Regions from separate parts of the Homo sapiens genome. Here region 1 is linked to region 2. The links are contacts of gene promoters, found by promoter capture Hi-C in human tissues and cell types (Jung and others, 2019). All regions are on one chromosome and are shown on one strand. The core of a region is centred on a gene start or on the middle of the fragment in contact, and the rest is flanking DNA. Distances in the headings are between cores, read along the strand shown. Region 1 holds the start of LOC105371961 (a long non-coding RNA gene). Region 2 holds the start of METTL4 (methyltransferase 4, N6-adenosine).

Region 1 (4,280 bases), core at 1,429-3,928, 220 kb before region 2:
CATCTCCATTGATGATTGAACCTTAGCAATTCATTCAGTACAAAATTGGAACAAGATACTCCCTGACTTCAAGAATTTCACAATGAATTGGGATAGGCACAAGGGTCAGGTAATTATCTTAGCTCTTGCTTGGGTAGCCAGGGGTATGTAAATCAGATTAGGAGCACCAGGATTCCTTTCAAGGGAGGTGATATTGAGCAGAGATGTGATGGTAGAGTACACATTAATTAGGAAAACAGGTGGTGGGAAGTCATTCTGAGCAGAGGGAAGAACATGCGGGAAGCCATAGAGCGTCATAAGGCATGACCCTATCCCAGCGCTGCTAGAGGTTCCGTATATCTAAAGATGATGCAGGAGCCAGAACTAGGGGCTGGATAATGGAGAAGCTTGCATGCTAAACTTATTACGAACTTTATTTTGAAAGTAGTGGAACGTTATTGGACCACTTCAAAAGCGGAGTGTTACGTTCAGGCTTGAATTTTAGAAATATCTGTCTGGTAGCCATGTGCAGGTTGGTTGGAAAGGGAGGCATCAGACAGGAGACGAATGAGAAAGCTGTTGCAGTCATCTGGGTGAGAAACCAACGAGGGCCTGAATAAGATGGCGGCTGGAGACTAGCGCTGGAGAGGGGGAGCCTTCCATATCCGGCCACTTCTCTCCACAGCCGCCATTTTGGCAGAAGCCTAAGCCTTGCTCATCCCTTACTTAGGCTACATTTTCAAAAGTCAGAAAAAACTTTTTCCTGAAGAAGGGGTTTCTGAGACAAGTAGGTCAAAGAAAGGCCAGCGTGTGGGAGTGTGTGTGTGTGTGTGTGTGTGTGTGTGTGTCCTTGAGTAAAATTGCAAGCCAAAGAGGAAGGCAGCAGTATGTATTCTCTGTAGGTGAGCAGGAAGCTTGCGGCCCTACACAGTGCTGACGTAATGAGTCCGTCCTGTGCCTATTCATTCAAAACAGGATTGAGACGTCAGCTTGACAAAGCTTTCTCTCCTCGCAGGACCCCTATTTGTGACCAATTGTAAGATCATCTGAAGATCGAGTCCGATTGCCTGGCCAGGCCGGGCTGGGTGGTATGTGCCCCCGTCACGCCGGAGGTTCCTGCTTTAGCGACGCCAAAGATTGGGTGTGAGGGCAGCCCGCGGTGACAGAGACACGGATCGGACCGAGAGAAAAAGGCTGTGGGCTTCACTGAGCAGAGTGACGGTAGGAAGCTTCCACAGCGCGGAAGGGTCCCCCGCGGGTAGCCAGTGTTAGATCTTTTGATCACCTTTTAAACTCTTTAAGGCGGGAAATACCCGAGGTGGGAAGATGTTACCAGAGCAAGAAACAAAGACGATTAAGATGTCTTAGATCTTGAGGAAAACCGGCATGGTAACTTAACTTTTACCTGCTTTATGACCTTGCAGCGGCATGGCAAAGGAGACAGGATCTCACAGGACTTTACAGATTGTGTTGACAAGGAATTGGAATTGGGACATAGATAAGGTCTGCTGATCGCAGGAAAATGGGCTTTTAACATTCCTTTTAGTTTCAGGGAAGGGGCAAGGGAGAGAGGGAGCGAGGACACAGGGAAGCTTACAGCAAAAGTTTCGCTGTTTATAGCTTTCTTGGGGGAAGAAAACACATGCCCAAGTTTTGATGTTAGGAATATTATTTTAAGCACATATCTTTAATATTATTCATCCAGGACCAAAGTAAGTCCTGATGCAGGAAAGGAGTGAGTTTCACAGCTTTCTGAGCCCCTAATCAACCCAGGAAGCCCAGCTGGAACCTCCTCTCACTGTTAGGCTAGATTTTAATTACATCTAAGTGACAGTAACTTTCCTTATTCCTATTTGACCTGGTATTTTCTGGTTTCAATTTCTCTCGTTGAAAGGAACAACATTCCTAAGGCAAAATTCACAAGGCAGATATCTAATAATTTGTTTGGGTGCTGTTGAAAGAAATTAACGAAATGATCCATCGCTCCCTCAGAACTCCCACATGTGTGCACGTACACACATCCCCACACATTGGCTTTCTTCCAGTTCTTTAAATCTCAGGTTCTGAAAGAGATGCCAAATGGCTGGTACATTAATCCTGGCTTTTAAGCACCTACACACCAGGAAATGAATGTTCACAATAAAAGGCACAGTAAGGTGAGCGTCAATTCAGAACAGCAGAAGTGGAAATGTATATTCATTTGTAAATATTAGGATTTCATGGCTACATTGGCACTTGAGATCATTTCAAAGAATATCAATAATTAGAGACTGGTGGAGAATATTCCAGACACAGAGGAAAACATGCTAAGATGATGAGGAAAGACAAATTGATATGTTCGGAAAAGTGTAGGGAAGAGGGAGATGAAAAGAAATTTATAAATGGATACAAATATGTGATTTGATAGAAGAAATAAGACATAGAGTTAAAGAGATCAGTAGGGTTATTCTAGTTCACAGTCATCTATTGTATATTTCGTAATAAGTAGAAGATAATTCAAATAGTCCTAGCATAAAGAAAGGACAAATGTTTAAGGTGATGGACATCCCAAGCACACTGATTGGATCTTTACAAATTATATGAATGTATTAAATTCTCACATGGATCCCAAAATTATGTACATCTATTATGCATCAAAAAAAAATAAATTTAAAAGAAGAAAACTGTAGGGAACCCACTCTGGCTGAGGCATATAGCATGGGGAGGGACGGAGTTGAATTGTCAGAGCCATTAGGTCAAACTAGAAATTGTCAGTGAGGTATTGGTGTTTAATCCTGGCAACCACAGGAAATGATTGCCTAGTATTTAAGCAAACTGGTGATGTGAACCATGCTTCAGAATTTAGTTTTTATTCTAAAAATAGAAAAAAAAAACTCTCTAAACCTTCCGGCCACTATTTTATTTCCCCAATGAAAATGGCAGGAGTCATCTCAGGGTTTACATGGAAAAATCACTTTTAAAAATACATTTGCATATATTTTCCCATTTAGTCGTCATGGAAACTCTGAAGCAGGTACTGTCCTGGCTCTCCCTTTTACTAGATGTATGACCTTGGGCATGATACCTAAGTCAGCATTCATCTCTAGCATGGTAATAACAGTAGTACCTACTGCCTGTGTTTAATGTATAAAAGACACAATGGATGTAAAAGCACTTGGCACCATACCTACTGCATAATAAGCTTTCAATAAATATTAGATTTATAATTATCATTATTATTATTACTTTATAACAAGGAAAATGAGACAGAAAGTTAAGTGGTTTGCCCAAAGTTGCTGGGCTAGGAAGTGGCCGAGTTAAACTTGACTGCAAGCTACTGGCATGATGTTTCAAAACTGCAAATCGTATCATGCTCCCTGTGAAAGTGTAAGTAAATTATAGGTCCAATAATGGAGAACTGACTAGGTAAATTGTGCACCTCTATCATGTGGAATTCTACAAACCAATTATGGTGATGTTCAAGAATTATTTTTTCCAACATAGAAAGAGTCAAATATATTATTACATTTTTTAAAAGTTAATGTACACTAAGAGTTTTTATTAAAGATAAATAATAGAAATATCCTTTCAGGGTAGAAAATATTCTAAAAGGATGTATGCGCCGAGGCTCTCGGTAACTGAAAAAGAGTGAGAATGGATTTTTCTTATTCCTATGCTCACTCATCTGTGAGCGTAGTAATATGTGCCATGTTTGACATATCCATGTTGAACACAATTTGTCTTAAAATACATCTTTTAAACTTCCACCTTTCTCCCCTCAACCCTAAAACACACTTCCTCTTCATAGCACACCTGTCTTGGTGCCAAACACACAAAGCATTCTTTTCTAAGATGATATATCCTACCTAAGATCCTATGAGGAATAGTCCTTGGCAGAACACATGACTCGCCCATTATTTAATCGTGTTACTGTCTGTTTGTTGCAAAGGGCTAATCTTAATCATAGAAAAGTTTAATGTTCTATAGATCTTTACTGTGGGCCATGTAGAATGGTAAGAAAAAAATTTAATTTCCCACTTTCCCTTATTCTCTGTCATAACCATGGATCTAAAATTCATCCCAAATCTCAAAGACCTTGAGTTTAGTCTAATATCTTTTTTGAAATGTATGTATGTACAACATACATAACTTAAAATTTACTATCTTAACCATTTTAACTGTAAATTTCAGTGACATTCACATTGTACGACCATCATCACCATTCATCCACAGAACTCTTTTCATCTTGCAAAACTGAAACTCTGTACCAGTTAAACAATAACTCCTACCCCCTCCTCCAAGCCCCTGGCCACCACCATTCT
Region 2 (4,125 bases), core at 120-2,619:
AAACAGGGCTCACATGTGATCATCCTTCCATCTATTGGAGTCTAGCTTGAAATGTGACAACCGGAACCAAAAGAACCTTGAATTTGGTGCCTACTTTGGTTTTGGTGCTGCTGCTTCTCAAGATCCTCAGCAGGGATTAAGAAGTTGGGGTGCACAGCAGGAATATCAGGAAATTGGCAGGCTTGACTTCCTGGCAAATTGCTAGCAGGACCACTAAATGCTGAACTGTACTGTGAATGTATACCGAAATACAAGCAATTATTTCTGTACTAAAGGTGTTTTTAATTTTGTATTTGTGTAAAACCACCTTTGGAAGCAGCAACTATCTAGTCAGAAAAGCAAATGATGTTTCCATTAATCTTTTCTGGGGAAAACATTAGTGCTAAGGATTTAACAATCTGTAGGTAAAGTTTAACCTAACAGTATTCCACAAGGAGACTTTTTATTATCAGACGGTTGCCTAATTTTCATATAATTTTTATATTAATATAATCCTTGGTTCCTCCCCATCCCCTTCATAGGCCACAGCTGAGGTGAAAAGGGTCCTGGAATGGCTAGTGAGAGCTAGAAATTCAGACGGGAAAATTGAAACTCAGAGCAGAAAGGCAAGCTGCCCAAAAATAACAACGCTAGTTAATGGCACAATTGCTACCAGACCCAAGTATCCAGACTTCCTGGAGCTGTGAGATCTTTCATCACCACCACTCTCCAGGTACCGGGCAGTGCCTGTTTCTGGATTCAAACTCACAGCAGCGAGGAAATCCTATTTTAGCAAAGTGATCTACTGTTACTGTTGTTAGTGCACCCCTCTCCTGCGTCTCTGCTTCACATCCACTCCCTCGCCGCCCGCCCCCAAACACTTGGATTCTTCCTAGCCTCTCACAGGTCAGCCACCACCAGAGGACCGTGAGCCTCCGGCAAGTGATCAAATACTGAGCCCGAATTTCGGCAGCCGTACCAACGCAATCCTGGGAGCCCATTCCACCCACTCCGCAGCCCCTCTCCCACCTCACCTCTTCCCTTGTCAGAAAAGCGGACGCCGCCTTCCCAGACTCTCCTCATGAAAACAGCACCCATCTAAATAGTGATCATGAAAAATGCCCCTTCCAGTCCACAGAGAAAAAGCTTTCTCCTTTTCTAAGAGTCCATGGGCGCCGCCATGTTGCTGTACGGAAAAACGTTTCCAGGGCGAGTTGAGCGTTCAGGGCACTCCTCGGCGCTCAAGCTGCCCACAGGTCTTCCGACCTAACTTTAGGGGTCGTGCCAGTCTTCGTAGAGACGGCCACACTGGCCCACAGACCCCAGTTCCTGGGGTGACGCAGCTGGGCGCGACCAGCACGCAGCCTTCCAGCGACGAGGCGGTCGCATGGAAGTTACTGCGCGCGTCGTGCGTAATGACGTCAGCGCCGGCGGAGAATTTCAAATTCGAACGGCTTTGGCGGGCCGAGGAAGGACCTGGTGTTTTGATGACCGCTGTCCTGTCTAGCAGATACTTGCACGGTTTACAGAAATTCGGTCCCTGGGTCGTGTCAGGAAACTGGAAAAAAGGTGACTGAATGACATCGGATTAACTTTGTTTCTGCAGAGCTGTTCTGGAGGAAGAAAGTGATGGCGCCAATGACTTAAATTTAGAGGTCCTGAGGCGATGTTTTGGTGTTTGTTTGCTGTTGGGAGAAGCCTCGAGGCCAAAACTGTGCGAGGCGCTGGTTTCACGGGATCTATTAAATTTCTAGTGGCAACGATTTCCCAAGGAGGAAAGGGGAGGGCCTGGGGGACACTGATGAGGAGTGGAGGCTCGGGAGAGGAAACGGGGAAGAATTGAAGGGGGCGGAAAGAGATGGACAAGAGAGGACTCGTTGGGTGGGTTGCGTCTGAATACTAGTGTAGCTTCTTATGGCCGTGTAGGACTGCGTGTAGAAGTCTTCATCTTAAATCATGAGAGCTACATTCTAAGTGGAGATTAAACGTGGACACACAGGTGTGAGTGGAAAAGTTGAATAGATGAACAAGCGCATATTGAAGAGGAAATAGGCGGCCAAAATCAAGAAGAGTCTAATCAGTGTAAAAGACTAAGGAGTACCCAGAGAAGTAAAAGGATTGTCACCTTCCTGAAAGCCAGGGCAGGACCTGAGAAGGCTGGGTGCAGAGATGAGACAGGATCAAAAGTTTTGTCAATCATGTGTATCCTAGGAGACAAATTTTTTAGCAGATGTGAAGGGAGTGACCTGTTAATGTGGTTTGTAAATGGAGGCAGCCTATAGACCATTTTATGGACCGGATGATTTATCCTTGTTGAAGGGGAGATTGATGCCAAAAGGGCAGTAATTGAGGAAACAATGGGTTAAGGACAGAGCAGGAGAGATTGACATTAGGAAAACAGAATAATTCCATTCTCTGAAACCAAAGAAAAGGAAACATTTTGAGGTGAATAAGAGAATTTGAGGTAATTTTTTTGTCTTCCTATTGAAATAGGCACAGCCAACAGCAGTAATGTGGTCTGGGTAACAGACAGGGCTTTAGCTACCACGGATACCCTTGTGAAGGCAAAAACCGTAACTTACTCGTCTTTGCATCTCCTGCATTGCCTAGCACACTCCCCTATATATATAGTGGGCAGTTAATAAATGTTTATGTTGAATATTTTTAAATGGAATTAAATAGATGTTCCTTGCAAATGAGAACTTCAGTGTACATGAACAAAAAAGAGATACCCCAGGGGAAAGATGATGATCTTGAAGAAACAATGAAACCTGACTGTCTTTCTGTTTAAGGATAAATAGTTGCTTAATGTACCATCTCTGTCTGGAAAGTTTTTTTTAAATACTGAATTCGTGAATGTAGGTCATAAGCATGAAGCGCAGTTCAGTTTCCAGCGGTGGTGCTGGCCGCCTCTCCATGCAGGAGTTAAGATCCCAGGATGTAAATAAACAAGGCCTCTATACCCCTCAAACGTGAGTATTTCCCTTGTGGTTCTAATTTGCATGCTTTATCATCTTAGGCAAAGAAATCATAAGAAATAGTTAATATAAAGATGTAATATGAGTGATGTCTTGGTGAATCTTGTCTGTTCCCAGGGGTACCTAATTTTGGATCAATGAAATCTAAAAGTGGGCATGATACTCTGCTAGGTGTTGTTTGTGTCATTTGTTTCACAAATTTCCAAAGCCAAATGCTTTACCAGGCACCCCCTAAAAGGACTGTTAATTCTTGTTCAGTACTCTCTTATTTTTCTCTTTTATTCTAGAGCTACTTGTTTAAGCAGGCTCTGTGCTGTAACTTAGAGTTCACTGAGATATTTCCAATTAGCAAAGCTTCAATCAAATCAGAGCAAAATTATTTGCTCTCATAAGGTATAATATAGTAGCAGCCTACAAAACACCACTCCTCCGAACTCTTTCCTCAAGATTTGCTGGAAAAATATCTGAAAGAACCTGCTGTCATAAACTATAGTTTTTCATTATGAGTGATTATCTTCCAGATAAGAGAAGGCTATTTGTAAGCCATTGTAGAGCTGTATAATTCTTCTCTAGTACCGAGGTACAAGTTACTTGCTAACTGTTTTTAAATTACTTGGATTTACATAGTATGAGCCTATGTTACTTTTAGAAATTTGAAATATTTATATATTTTTCCTTTTGAATACTGTAAACCAAGAAAATGTTTGTGCTGTTATACATTACTTATACCAAAAAAAGTTATGCCTTTAATTGTATTAGAAGCTAAAAGGTCACCATTGTCAATGTTTTTTTGCCTGCAGTTTAGATAATGTAATAAGTGCAGCTACATTCTAATACAGAGCAGGCTCTAAAAAAAAAAAATGTAAATGTGGTTAAGATAATGGAAATCATAATGTAGATAGGGTTTTTGTTCTGCAGAGAAGCAAAAGACTTAAATCTGCATAACAAGCCTTACCTTTGACCATTTTGTCTTAACTGGACTTCCTACCTACACTTTTCTTTCTCTTGGTAAATAAGTGAAATAAGCAGGGAACAGACAAACAGCACATGTTCTCATAGGTGGAAGCTAAAAAAGTTTATCTCATAGAAGTAAAAAATAAAATGGATGCTAGAGGCTAGGAAGCATAGGGAGAAGACGGAAATAGGGAGAGATCTGTTAAAGGACACA

Evidence for each region. The method cuts DNA at HindIII sites, captures the fragments that hold promoters and counts their contacts. A contact is called where the count stands out against the background at its distance.
Region 1: a fragment that was not itself captured here is called in contact with the fragment with the promoter of METTL4 in region 2 in 3 of the 25 tissues and cell types used here (H1 embryonic stem cells, hippocampus and mesendoderm cells).

Annotation. Positions count from the first base shown.
Region 1 is chr18:2,350,230-2,354,509 of GRCh38, forward strand. It overlaps LOC105371961 (a long non-coding RNA gene), which reads left to right and starts at 351. Exons shown (of 4, transcript XR_935097.4): 1 at 351-572; 2 at 995-1,200. RefSeq lists an enhancer at 356-1,555. The HindIII fragment of the contact is 6,362 bases long and covers 1-4,280 here.
Region 2 is chr18:2,570,136-2,574,260 of GRCh38, forward strand. METTL4 (methyltransferase 4, N6-adenosine) reads right to left here and starts at 1,370. Exons shown (of 9, transcript NM_022840.5): 1 at 1,014-1,370. NDC80 (NDC80 kinetochore complex component) reads left to right here and starts at 1,422. Exons shown (of 17, transcript NM_006101.3): 1 at 1,422-1,548; 2 at 2,842-2,951. The coding sequence starts at 2,851. RefSeq lists enhancers at 463-1,385, 1,268-1,427. The HindIII fragment of the contact is 12,565 bases long and covers 1-4,125 here.